Linked DNA regions of Homo sapiens: all the other regions are linked to region 1. Evidence: promoter capture Hi-C in 16 types of primary human blood cells and fetal thymus (Javierre and others, 2016). All regions are on one chromosome and are shown on one strand. The core of a region is centred on a gene start or on the middle of the fragment in contact, and the rest is flanking DNA. Distances in the headings are between cores, read along the strand shown. Region 1 holds the start of ATPSCKMT (ATP synthase c subunit lysine N-methyltransferase). Region 2 overlaps LOC101929200 (a long non-coding RNA gene). Region 3 overlaps MED10 (mediator complex subunit 10). Region 4 overlaps NSUN2 (NOP2/Sun RNA methyltransferase 2). Region 5 overlaps SRD5A1 (steroid 5 alpha-reductase 1).

Region 1 (2,575 bases), core at 41-2,540:
GAGTGCAGTGGCGCGATTATAGCGCACTGTAAACTGAACTCCTGGGCTCCACCCATCCTCCTGCCTCAGCCCCAGAGTAGATGGGAACACAGTCGCCAAGTCTGTTCTTGAGTTTCAGGACAGGGTCAAATGTTATAGTGCATGTATTCATTTCAGCACTTATTGAGTGCCTAATAAAGTCTGGGAATAATACAACTTTATTAGTTAAGTCCCTGCCCATGGCAGTAGGGGAGAAGCAAGGATGGAAACCCTCAACAAATAAATCTAAACCTATCAAATATTAAGTCATGATCTTGGAGGGCGGGGAGGAAGGCAGCATAAGAGATTTAGAGGACAGCTGCGGTTGCCAAGATCTTTCTGAGGCAGCATAATACAGGGCTTAAGAGTGAGACCTGCCGGGCACCGCGGTGGCTCAGGCCCAACACTTGGGGAGACCTAGACGGGTACATCACTTGAGGTCAGCCGTTCGAGACCAGCCTGGCCACTACGGCGTTAACACCGTCTCTACTAAAAATACAAAAATTAGCGAGCGTGGTGGTTCTGTGCCTGTAGTCCCAGCTGCCTGGGAGGCTGAGGCACGAGAATCACTGGAACCCGGGAGGCGGAGGCTGCAGTGAGCCGAGACCGCGCCACTGCACTCCAGCCCGGGCTACAGTCTTGTCTCAAAAAAAAAAAAAAAAAAAAAGAGTGTGGGACCCATTGCATCAGGCTGTGTAACTGTTTCTTACTAGCTGTATACCAGTGGCAAGTTACTGAACCATTTGTGCAAAATGTTAATTTATTTACCAACACTGTGTTCAGCTTGCCAGGCACCGTTCTCCTTGAATCTCACAGCAGCCCTGTGAGTAGGCACTACTGTTACCACCGTCACTTTGCAGACAGGGAACCCGAGGGACAAAGAAGTTAAGGGATTTCCTCAAAGCCACAGCTAGGAAGAGCGGCAGAACTGCGATTCCAATCCATCAGTGTGCCTCCACTATCCCTATTCCTTAAGATCGTGCCAAAGGCTGAGTCACTTGCACTAAGTAGCCTAGAACAGTCTCTGGGGAAACGCGCCCGCCGACAAGGATCGCCAGAACCGGCGCGGGCACCGCGCGGCGACCAGGAGCTCTGGTCACCGAAGGCCAGGCTGGAGGCCAGAGCAGCCGCCCGCACCCGGTCACCGCCTCGACAGTGGAGACCTCAGCTGACCGCGAGCCCCCGGCCCGCCCGCACCCCTTCTCATGCCCCCAGGAACCCGCCAAGCCGCTCCAGCCTCACCTCCTCCTCCCTCCATCGCGAGATTTCCAACAGCGTTTTTAAAAAAAAAAAAAAAAAAAAAAAAAAAAAAAAAAAAACCGGAAATGGGTCCTACCATCTTCTCGGAGCCGGAGTGCGAAGAAATAAAGAAATAGTGCTTTAAGTCAATGAATTCCTCCTTGGGACCCACTATCGAGAAACTATCAGTGGTAACGTTTTAAAAAATGACAAATTCAATCTGCTCTTGACTTGTGTGTCCTAAGATTTCCACTAAGTGTCTTCAAACCTCCCCCTCCCCGGCTTCCTGGATAATAGAAGTTCCCGAAGGCCGCCGATTCCAGAAGATACTGTCTGGCGTGAAATTAGTCTCAGTAGAAACATAAGTCCCGCGCGTCTTGTGCTGCGCGTGCGCAAGCTTTTGGGCCCTCCCGAGAAAGGGAAGTGCATTCTCGCTTCCGTAGCGGTCTCCGCCGGTTGGGGGGAAGTAATTCCGGTTGTTGCACCATGGCGTCCATGGGGACCCTCGCCTTCGATGAATATGGGCGCCCTTTCCTCATCATCAAGGATCAGGACCGCAAGTCCCGTCTTATGGGACTTGAGGCCCTCAAGGTAATGGCACAGGGACCTGCTCGCGGTGGGCTAAGGGGAGGTGGCCGAGGCCGTGGCTCTGCGCCTGCGCGAGTTGAGGAGCGGCTCTGCCATGTGCTCCCCGGAAAGGTCGAGAATCTCCGTCTCCCTGCGGTCTCCGGCCGCTCAGCCCGCTTACTGAGCTCGGGAGACGCCGGCGCCTAATCCTGGGCTCGGAATGTGGGGGCCAGCCAGGCTGGGCCGCCAGCGCCCTTCGGAGCTGGGTGGGGCCGCTCAGTCCGGTCGCCCGCGGGAGCAAAGCGGGACCGCCTCCCCGCCCGGCTCCTCCAGCCTGACGGCCGCGTGGGACTGCGCTCCAGTGGGAGGGCGCCGGGGAGATGCTCTGTCACCTGTCGGTTAAGGCGCTGCTGCTTAACCTTTCGCTGGTCCACCCGCAACGGCCCTTCCGTTTTCTTTGTCACTCGTAAAGGTGTGGTCACTTAACAGGGTATTTCATTTCTGAGTGCTTTTTTGCCCACCCTTGAGGAAAAATAGCGAAGAGTGAAAAACGGACGCACATAACCGTAATACAAGGTGGTGTGCAGTGAGAAGGACAGCTACGGAGAGGGTGCACATAAGCGTGGTGCTGGAGGACAGCTTTAGATCGGGGTGAGAGGTAGCATTCTAGGGAGAGGAAACGGTAGAAGTAAAGGCTTGGGCAAGAATGCGCATGGCACGTTGTAGAATGGAAGAGCCATCCGGTTTTAAT
Region 2 (2,575 bases), core at 49-2,548, 4.8 Mb before region 1:
TGAGAGCTGGGCACACACAACAACTGAGGAATTCATTGGGAGGTGAGTCAGAAGGAGGAGGAGGATGAAGAGGAAGAGGAGGAGGAGGGTGAGGAGGAGGGAGAGGGGAAGGAGGACGGGGAGGGAGGGGGAAGGAGGGGGAGGAGGAGGAGGAGGAGAAGGGGCTGCACATGCCTCAGCAAGGGCAGTACTGAGCAGAAGATGATCATAAAGTCACTTCCTCCATGTCTTGGTTTTTAAATCATTGCTGTCTGTGGGATTTGTCCTCTGGGCTCCTTCTTACCCCAGATGCAGTCTTGGGCACACACCCTAGCCTTTCCAGTCACTCGGAGACAACACAGTCCAGTGTGATGTGCTGTCACTTATTTCCTGTCTTCAACTTAGCTTCTTACCCATGGAGCTGGTGGCCGTTCTTAGACGCTAGCAAGATGGGTGTGGGTGGGTGGGAATGGGGCAAGACAGGCTTTTCCTCTGTTCCAACATTTTCCTTATTCACCAGCTTGTTTGTGACCCCTCCAAGCTTGGGGTAGGAGAAGGGATCAGGAGAAAAAGATGCAGTCTTTGTAACCTGGCTTCCCAAAGTGCTTGAGTCATAGTCCAAGAACAAAGAACAGGCTGGTGGGGTGGGCTTCTCTCCTGCAGCGAGCTCCTTGGGACGGAAGAGCATCTTCCGCACAGGACTGGGGCAGAGCTCAGCCAGGAGACCCACATTACACCCAGATTATTTTAAGAGAGAAAAGGTAAAAGCAAAACACTAAAATATCACAGGAGGAGCCACCGCAAGAAGCAGCTGACACCTTGGGCTGGAGAGAATAAAAGAAGGAGGAAGGAGTGAGCAAAACTCAGAAATGTGGAGGAGCTGCCACCCAGAAATCACACTCAGACATATGAAGAAGGGACCTTCTGGGCTGGTGCTGAGGCCTCTGCTCTTGGACTCAGGGCTCTGTGGAGCTGGGAAACCAACTTTGCTGGTATCTCCGAGGGGATGCTATGAGGCTGGCTCTGCGTGTGTCAGAGAAACTGCAGACCCAATTCGTATGCCGCTCTGTTCATGAACTGCCACTGCCAGGTGCGAAAGCAAGGATAGCAAGACGCTAGCAGGACCAGGAGTCGGACAGGACAGAATGGGAGGCACAGGCCCCTCTCCTACCTCTTATCTTCTGGTTTCCTTGTGTATATCTGTTGGCACAGCTGAACAGAACTCTGGCAGGAGAGGTGGCACGTGGCTCCCCAGTCCCTACGTCACAAGGCAGAGTATAAAAGGGAAGGTGTGGGGCCGAGAGACAGTAACTTAACCACCAGCTCAGGGTCCTGGGATTCATCCCTCTTCCAGTCAGCAGGAAGTGACAAAGAGCACAGGAAGGCCCTAGGGGCCAGGCCCCTTTTGCTGATGTTTGGCTGGTAGAACTTAATCACATGTCAGGTGCAGGGAGGCTGGGGAATAACTAGACAGAATAGAAACAAGTTTTGGTGAGTGGCTGCCACTGGTGCTGTGTGGATACAGTTCAAAGTGAGGACTTTCCAGCTGTGGACATCCAGCTACAGTTCTTTGAATGGGGGATGGAAGAGCAAAGTTTTATTTCTGGCTGCTCACTTTGCCTCAGCCTCGCTTTCCTCGCAGCTCCCACTGAAATGCCCACCGTATCCAGTATGCAGAACTCCTGCTCATCCCAGTGCGGGTGAGCATGCGGCTCAGTCACCTCCAACCCATCTCCTGGAGCTGTCCCACGGTTCCCTTGGAACCACTCTAGGGCATGTAGCATCTGACTCTGAGTGCTTCACTTCGTGGGGGCACTGATTAAAACAAAGCTCTGGAATATAGCATCATCGAGAGGCAACTGTTGATTTAATTTATTAACATATACATCCACTGAAATGGCTGCTAGATGTGGTCTAGAAACCAAGGAGACCCCCCACTGGCCTCAGGTGAAGGGGAAACATGTCCCTCCCTTTCCTATCCCTCCTCAGAGTTAGGTGGGACATGCCCTTGCCAGCTGCTCTACAGAGAATCCCCTCCTCAACACCTGTCACCTCTGAGCACCTGCCGCCTTCTTCCTCCGATCCCGGAAGCTACAAGAAGCTTCTCGTGTGACCAACTCTTACAGCCGCCAGGTGTTCACAAACCCGCAAGGCAGAGTGGGCTTGTCCTCCTTTACAGAGGGCGACTGCAATGTGAGAGTTGTGAAAGTCCTTTCAAATGTTGCTTTTTTTTTTTTTACTTTTCTCAATCAGCTTTCTCAGGTTGAAGAAAATTTTGCTTAATAATCATATCAGTTTTGCTTTCTATTTCAAACTAATTGTTTCAAAACTAAATTTTATTTGTCCGGTTTCTAAGTAACATCAGTGTTTCAGGAAGAAGCAACATGTTTACTCTCTGGCTTCAAATCACTTTGAGGGTAAGAGCTGAGGCTGTGAGCAAATTGCTGATGTCTGAGGACAAGTCGAAACCCCACCACTATAACCCTGAGTGTTGAGAAAAACTGGAGCAAAGACAGCTTAGGACTAAGCCTGGTGGAACGTGTGTGGGCGGATAGCAAAGTGGTTCCCACAAGACGCCTTCCACCCTAGGATGCCC
Region 3 (2,575 bases), core at 35-2,534, 3.9 Mb before region 1:
AATGGATATGGTAAAAAGAAGTTTGGAGGTCAGAAGCTGGACAAAGAGAAAAATCAATATTCAAGAATCCTCTAAAACAAAGAACCATGACTACAGGGAAAGCCTTCAACAGTAGGAATTACTACAGAAATAGAAAGTATCAATGCAATAAAAGTGCATCTTAAAAAAATGAAAATGATCACAGCCAGTGAGAACTACTATCACAAAAATTACTCTGGATTTCCTTAAGAGTAAGATTAGTGTATGTTTTTTATGCTATTACGCAGCTGATATCTAATTTTACTTACTGCCTATTACACAATTCAGAAATCTCAATATGTGAAGTTATGAAAGTCAATATTCTAGCAAGTATGGAAAAAAATGAGTCTCTTAACCAAATTCCACTGAGAAGGCATCTCTTCCCACTGTATTTCTGACACTCCTTAGAGTCTTACCTTCATGGTGTCGATCTTGCCTTTAACTTGCTCATTTTTAGCTAGAGCCCTCTCCAGGCACTCTTTGGTGTAGAGCTGGGGATTTCGACCTTGATCTATATATCTGGAAACACGATATATTTCAATTAGCATTCTCATGACTGACACCTATTCTCACAGCTTTCTGAAAGGTATGGGGGAATAAAGGTTAGGTATATATAACTGCACACGGCCTTGTTTAGACAAAACTCAGTGTAGGAACCAGGGGAATTAATATTCCCTCATTTACACAAGTACAGATCATCTGATTTCATTACTTCTGATAATACGAACAGCTCATAAAATCAAGTAATGATCACTGATAAACCCAAGCACGCTTCACAAGCCATACCACTTTACATGTGTTTAGCATTTGCACTTTTCAAAATTCGTTCATGCTATTTATTACCTTTTTGATCCTTACAGCAGCTTGTATGGTAAGGCAACTCTTGACAAAAGAAAAAACTAAATGAGATCCAGGGGTTCGGGCCTGGGTGACATAGGCGGATCCTTCCACGATGCAGCCTCCATTCTAGGTCAGCCCTGCTGCTTGGCAAAGCCCCTCCTCCTCTGTGGAGGAGCTTCAGGGGAAAGGAAAGGAGAACTACAAGCACAAGAGCCCCAGCCCTGACGACCCCAAGATCCTTTTACAAACCATTCCACTGCTTTAAAAAGAAGAGGCGGCTTGATATACCACTTTACTAAATACACCTAGGTAACTTAAATATAACAGAGACATTCTGGCCAATTATTTCTAAACAGTATAAAACTGTTACTTAGAATTTCTGACACTTCCCCCAGAAATTATCTTCAGTATCCTGAAGATTTAATTAAACATACTGCCTAGATCAATACCTATATTTTACCAAGAGCAGGCCACCTACCTTTTTCTGTACCCTAAAGAAATCCTTATCATTCAACTAAACTGAATCATTCATTATTTAAAAAACAAAAAACAAAAACTGAAAACTAACTCTACTTTCGAATTTTATAATTGAGGCCAAAAATATATAATCACTTCAGAACAAGATATCATTAGGTTACTACTAATGGTATAAAAAGTAGCCTTGATAGATAGCAAAAGATAAAAACATCACAAGTTCTAGAAATTCTATTTCATTTCAGTGTTTTTGAAATAATGTAATGTGGCAAAATTATGGTTAATTCTAAACAAAATCTATCCATTTCTCAAGAAAAACCTGACAGGCTCACAGAATAAGGTTAACCATGTCAGCTGACGGTCGTTTCTTCAACAGCATGGACATCCTGCTCAGACTTGGTTCTTTGAAGACCGAAGGGTGAACCCACTCCTGCCCACACACAAAGTCCTGGAGACAAGGGCCAAGCTGCTTTCACCTTAGCTAAAGACACAGTTGGTGTGTATGAAAATGTACACGCTGCAAAGGCCACTGGGACCTGGAAATTCCTTCTACATTGGGTAGACACCAACCACCGATTTGCAGATAAACTCCCAGCATCTGCTCTGTATTAGGGCTCACTGGCATACTCTTCCTGATACCCCAGGTCAATCTCATCCATCCCCGTGCCCAGCACTTCCCTCGGCCCTTAAGCAGTCTGTTCACATCAGTCTCCATTTGTTCTGCTTCAGAAGACACAAGTAGTTACTTGCCACTTGTCACTATATGCATCCCCTGCATTCATAATCAGAAGAGCACAAAGGAGGATGCTCTGTATTCCTGGACTGAGAAAGCCAAAGCTGAGTCTGGAGCTACCTGAGGTGCAAGACCTTCGTCCCACCTGAAGTCAGAGACCTCAGTGGTGCCCACTGAGCACAGGTAAGGAACATGGGGCAAAGTCATCAGCAGGTGAACAGAAGATCAGAGACCAAGAAAACCACCTCTGTGTCCTGTCTTTGTAGGCAGCTGCTGCACTATAGCTAGAACTTGTATCTCTGACCTTTTGGGATGGAAAACAGCCATAACTCTTTCCCTTTACTGCTTAACGAAATCTAGTGATTTACATTTGCAGTTTTGCTGCAAGAAATACTAGAATGTTCTTGCTGTTCCAAGCCAGCACCATCAGGGAGAGGCTGCTTTGCACTGGTCAAGAAAGTATGAGTCCGGGGGTTTCGTCTTAACTCTGACACTTACTAGGTAAACAAC
Region 4 (2,575 bases), core at 24-2,523, 3.6 Mb before region 1:
AGATTTTTCGACTTAAATTTGTGTGCCAGGCAAGTTCTTCAGGATACCTGACCAAAAAGAAAGCAAAACATTTATGGATTATAAATACTAAAGTCGTCTGTTGACAACTTTGTGCTTCTATCAGTCGCATGCCAAATGAGACTTCGAATGTTGTTCTCCCTGCTCCTATTCACAATCCTCTACGGACAGTCAGCAACACTCAGAGATGTCGCTGTAGGCTTAAGGAACATGGCTCTAGCTACACCGTGGCCCAATCAGAAACAGGAGAGCCATGGGGGTTACAAGATTATGCATATTACTGTAAAATTATAATGATGAAACGCTCGAGATCAGATGAAAAAGCGGACACTCCTCTGCTCTTCACCATTATAAGGTAACAATGGTAAGGTCATCAGAAAAAAAAGATACAAGATGACTTACTTAATGTGCAGATCACACAGAATCAAAATAATGCAGTGTCAGAGTGTCCCACAAATACCTGATTAGTTTTTTAAAAAATATATTTTTCATTATTTCTAACACCAGTTCAATAATGCACTAAAATATTTTACATACCAAAAAAATCCTACCTTGGAAACCACTAATGCATTAACTTGAGCTCCTAGGCTGTTACCTATATATAACTAAGAATAAAGCATTTCCTGCCATCATATCTGTGAATATATTTGAACTTTCTATAAATGATGACATCAATGTTATTTTTATTTTTTTTATTTTTTTTAATTAGGGGAGAAATGGGGGATACTAAAAACACTGCCTTTTTTTTTTTGAGACAGTCTCACTGTCACCTAGGCTGGAGTGTAGTGGTGTAATCTCAGCTCACTGTGACTTCTGCCTCCTGGATTCAAGTAATTCTCATGCCTCAGTCAGCCACCTGAGTAGCTGGGATTACAGACGTGTATTTTCAGTAGAGATGTGGTTTTGCCGTGTTGGCCAGCTTGGTCTCGAACTCCTGGCCTCGAGTGATCCGGCCGCATCAGTCTCCCAAAGTGTTGGGATTACAGGCATGAGCCACTGTACCCCACCCAGGATGTGCTTTGAAACTTGGCCTGCACCTATACAGGCATCTGCACCGTACAAATGAGCACACTGATGTCATGCAGCACCATGCTCAATCCAATGCCAAACCAAGTGTACCACGTCACACGGCCATAAATCTTAGTGTAGTTTCAGCAATTCTCACTAAACCTGAGATGCAGTAATACACTCAATTTAACAATGCAGGCTCACAATGTTTCCATGCGTCAAATTGTAGCTAGAGTGAAAACCATGAAAATAAAACTGGAATGTCTGGAAAACACAAACACATTTGACTGCTTTTAAACTCTGATTTTTTGATGGAAACAAACTCAGGACTTAAAAGCCCGACACTGCTCAAGTCAAAATATTACAAAATATACCTGAAAAGCATTTTCTACCAAATAATGAAGACGAAACTGGCTGAATCTGTCCACGGCCACCCTCCAAAGGTCCCCAGCGCTTTGATTCTATCTCATATAGCCCAGTTCCCTCCTCGACATTTAATGTGTTCAAAAATATAAAGCCAAAAGAAAATCATATTCATAAGGCAATTTTAAAAAGAATTGTTTTAAATAATCTTTTGGACTCATTAGAGGCGAAATAGTAGGTTACATGCAAATTTGGCATTTGCTATAGTATTGGGCAAATATCTGCTGTGCCACTGTAACCTCTACTTGCAAACAGCCAAATGCCAGCTCATATAGTATCTGGTCTTCCTGAACTTGTCTGTCTCAAAGCTAGTACGATCATGTAAGTTATTGCCTTACCAAATCACTAAGACATCAATATGAACACCACATGCCATTTAGACTTATTGTAAAGAGCTGAATTTTCATTTTCAAATATAGATAAGCAGTCTAGATATACTTTGAACAAATATAGCCTTATATGTCTTTTTCGTCAAATTTCTGATAGTCAAAATGTAAACGTACTATTACAAGATTAAAATTCTACAGTATTTATAATTGTGAAGGCTGTTGATCTCATGTAAAGAAACATTTAGGAACTCTGAAATATTTAAATACAAACAGAAACTAACAGATAAATGTTTATTTCCTCTGGGTACAGAGAACAGCCTGGGCAACAAAGCGAGGCCCTGTTTCTACAAGAAATGTTTTTAAATTATGTTTCTTATACAGCTTTAGGAACAGCATCATCTTTTTATGAACCAAAAAATGTTTATTAAATCTTTGTAGATTTTAACATCAAACAAAATGAGAGGTATATTTAATTTTTAGTTACTTACTTCAAATTTAGCTTGTGTCTTTTAAGAAAAAATCCTATTTGGGCTTTTTAGAGGATAAGTTAAAAGGACCACTGTCATCTTTGCATATTAAAAATTCTCAAGTGGTAAGGACTCTGTAAATATATACAACATCTATGACAAACCATCCTCAATCTAGACATTAAAAAGCACGTAACAGGCGAGGTGCAGTGGCTCATGCCTGTAACACCAGCACTTTGGGAGACCAAGGTGGGCGGATCACTTGAGGTCAGGAGTTCAAGACTAGCCTGTCCAACATGGCAAAACCCCAACTGTACAAAAAATAGAAAA
Region 5 (2,575 bases), core at 1-2,500, 3.6 Mb before region 1:
AGGGAGACCCTGTCTCAAAAAAAAAAATCTTTTTTTTTTTTTTGAGACGGGGTCTCGCTCTGTCACCCAGGCTGGAGTGCAGTGGCGCGATCTCGGCTCACTGCAAGCTCTGCCTCTCGGGTTCACGCCATTCTCTTGCCTCAGCCCCCCGAGTAGCTGGGACTACAGGCGCCCGCCACCACGCCTGGCTAATTTTTTGTATTTTTACTAGAGATGGGGTTTCACCGTGTTAGCCAGGATGGTCTCGATCTCCTGACCTCGTGATCCGCCCACCTTGGCCTCCCAAAGTGCTGGGATTACAGGCGTGAGCCACCGTGCCCGGCCAAAAAAGATCATTCTTATTGTGAATGATGTTTTGGTGATAGCTGGAGAAGGTAGGGAAAATATATCCATCCTAGGCACATTGAAGTCCATGAAGAAGAAATCCAAAGCATTGGAACAGAATATATTTTAAAAACTAATTCAAGAAAGCTTTTGTGAAGTAAAACAAGACACAAGAGCGTCTGCCGTTTGCAGGTACGCACCCTATACCGGAGGAAGTGGACAGGAAACAGTGACGATCATCTGCACGTGCCATGAGTGGCTTGTAAGGGAAAGTTCGTTAGATTCTTCAGGGCAGCGTTCCGTGCCAGGGTCTTAGAGGCAGCAACACGAGAGGCCCAAGGAACGTGGAAGCCAAAATATTATCCTAGCTTTGGAGTCCCTCATGTAAAATCTGTCAGGTTTTGAAGACTCAGGTGTAGGGAGTCTGAGTGCTGTGCCCCATGAAGACTCCACCATGGTCGGCTTTGTGACCAGCTCCCTTCGCTGCAGACTCTTAATTTTGCAGGGCGTTTTCATGTGACACATTGATGGTTTCTAATACACAGGTGTGCCGTCTACATCCAGTGACTCCGTGAGGTCTTTCAGAAACGCTTCGCAGGACTCTGTTAATCATGGTGCCATAACTGGTTAGGGTCAAAGGAGCAAGTGACAAAATGAACAAATAAAGAGATAAAGAGAGGTGCACAGGTGTGACGTCCATAGTCAGTACATACAGGCTGAACTAGGGCTTAGGACAAGTGCTGTGGGCTGTGTGTGACAACCAGTTTGTGGTTTTGTAATGTGGCATCTGTAAGCAGCCTGTGTCTCAAGAGGACATTTTTTAGCAGATTGGCATCTGCAGGTTTTCCAGTCTAATTCCATGCTTACCAGTCCACCCATACGGTTCCACCACACCGTGTGTCCCACACCAGACACTTAAGAGAGAAGGTTCACTGAGCAGGCGGCATGCAGGAAGGCATCGTGGCCCCAGCCCTGCCCACAGGCTGTCTGCCCTTTGGGTGACTGGCATCTGCAGGGTATGGTACAAAGGTCCTTCCACGTCTGGGATTCACCTGCCCAGGGCTCTGATGAAATACAGATCATGATTAACGTAATCTTGTAGAAAGTTGAAGCAGTTACAGAAATGGGTGAATAAGAAAGTGAAAGTGACTAAGCTCCATGGCCCAGAAGGAACAGCGCTGTGAATGCTTTGGGTCCATTCTTGCAGGTGCTTCTGCAGGTGCACATGCCCACACATGGCGAATGACATTCTATTTATTGGGCATTAAGTTTGATATTTTTATGTTTTATATTGTCATTAAAAAGTTCACTTGTCAATGAATATTGATATTTGTATTAGTCTGTTTTCACTCTGCTATAAAGAACTACCTGAGACTGGGTAATTTATGAAGAGAAAATGTTTAATTGACTCACAGTTCCGCATGGCTGGGGAGGACTCAGGAAACTTACAATCATGGCAGAAGGCAAAGGGGAAGTAAAGACCTTCACATGGTGGCAGGAGAGAGAGCGAGTGAAGGGGGATCTGCCTCACTCTTTCAAACCATTACATGTCATGAGAATTCACTATCACAAGAAACCGCCTGCATGATCCAGTCACCTCCCACTGGGTCCCTTCCTTGTCCTGTGGGGATCACACTTCAAGATGAGATTGGGTGGGGACACAGAATCAAACCATATCAGTATTATTTTACAATTCTGAATTATTTCAAGCTTACAGAAAAGTAGTAGAGAGTTCATTATTGCAAACGTCTACATACCCCACCTTCCTTAAGAAAAAGAAAAGCACTGTGCTGTCTCGGGCTCAGCAAAACCATTTTCTTTCTTTTTAAAAAAATAGACCATCTCAGGCTGGGTGTCATGGCTCACACCTGTAATCCCAGCACTTTGGGAGGCCAAGAGAGGTGGGTCACCTGAGGTCAGGAATTCCACACCAGCCTAGCCAGCATAGTGAAACCCCATCCCTACTAAAAATACAAAACTCCAAAAAAAAAAAAAAAAGGTAGCCAAAAGCCCTCATGCATGCATGTAAGTTGCAGTGTGCTCAGAGATGTAGTCTCTACCCTATGCTGCAGTATTTGCTGAAATTGGTCTTATGACTTAGGGCGTAATAGGTTTGTCTTTTTTTTTTTTTTTTTTTTGAGACAGAGTCTAGGTCTGTCACCCAGGCTGGAGTGCAATGGCACGATCTCGGCTCATTGCAACCTCTGCCTCCTGGGTTCAAGCGATTCTCATGCGTCAGCCTCCCGAGTAG

Evidence for each region. Contacts are between HindIII fragments. The CHiCAGO score rates a contact against its expected background, and 5 or more counts as called.
Region 2: a contact is called between a fragment that was not itself captured here and the fragment with the promoter of ATPSCKMT in region 1, in 1 of 17 cell types (total B cells). The highest score is 5.4, in total B cells.
Region 3: a contact is called between a fragment that was not itself captured here and the fragment with the promoter of ATPSCKMT in region 1, in 5 of 17 cell types (activated CD4 T cells, total CD8 T cells, naive CD4 T cells and 2 more). The highest score is 10.6, in activated CD4 T cells.
Region 4: a fragment that was not itself captured here is called in contact with the fragment with the promoter of ATPSCKMT in region 1 in 5 of 17 cell types (naive CD8 T cells, non-activated CD4 T cells, total B cells and 2 more); the score reaches 8.0 in naive CD8 T cells.
Region 5: a contact is called between a fragment that was not itself captured here and the fragment with the promoter of ATPSCKMT in region 1, in 1 of 17 cell types (total B cells). The highest score is 6.6, in total B cells.

What each region holds. Positions count from the first base shown.
Region 1 is chr5:10,248,598-10,251,172 of GRCh38, forward strand. ATPSCKMT (ATP synthase c subunit lysine N-methyltransferase) reads right to left here and starts at 1,291. Exons shown (of 5, transcript NM_199133.4): 1 at 1,261-1,291. The coding sequence starts at 1,276. It overlaps CCT5 (chaperonin containing TCP1 subunit 5), which reads left to right and starts at 1,683. Exons shown (of 11, transcript NM_012073.5): 1 at 1,683-1,848. The coding sequence starts at 1,744. RefSeq lists silencers at 1,061-1,180, 1,191-1,250, 2,001-2,070, 2,141-2,280. The HindIII fragment of the contact is 6,282 bases long and covers 1-1,652 here.
Region 2 is chr5:5,416,875-5,419,449 of GRCh38, forward strand. The region is part of intron 2 of LOC101929200 (a long non-coding RNA gene); the gene reads right to left. Among named protein-coding and RNA genes, the nearest start is that of ICE1, 4.5 kb to the right of the region's middle. RefSeq lists an enhancer at 2,409-2,478. The HindIII fragment of the contact is 1,560 bases long and covers 519-2,078 here.
Region 3 is chr5:6,373,890-6,376,464 of GRCh38, forward strand. MED10 (mediator complex subunit 10) reads right to left here. Exons shown (of 4, transcript NM_032286.3): 3 at 435-537. Among named protein-coding and RNA genes, the nearest start is that of MED10, 3.4 kb to the right of the region's middle. The HindIII fragment of the contact is 3,447 bases long and covers 1-2,575 here.
Region 4 is chr5:6,625,623-6,628,197 of GRCh38, forward strand. It overlaps NSUN2 (NOP2/Sun RNA methyltransferase 2), which reads right to left. Exons shown (of 19, transcript NM_017755.6): 4 at 1-47. Among named protein-coding and RNA genes, the nearest start is that of NSUN2, 6.1 kb to the right of the region's middle. The HindIII fragment of the contact is 3,519 bases long and covers 1-2,575 here.
Region 5 is chr5:6,659,089-6,661,663 of GRCh38, forward strand. All of the region lies in intron 3 of SRD5A1 (steroid 5 alpha-reductase 1), which reads left to right. Among named protein-coding and RNA genes, the nearest start is that of SRD5A1, 27 kb to the left of the region's middle. RefSeq lists an enhancer at 1,311-1,540. The HindIII fragment of the contact is 1,563 bases long and covers 470-2,032 here.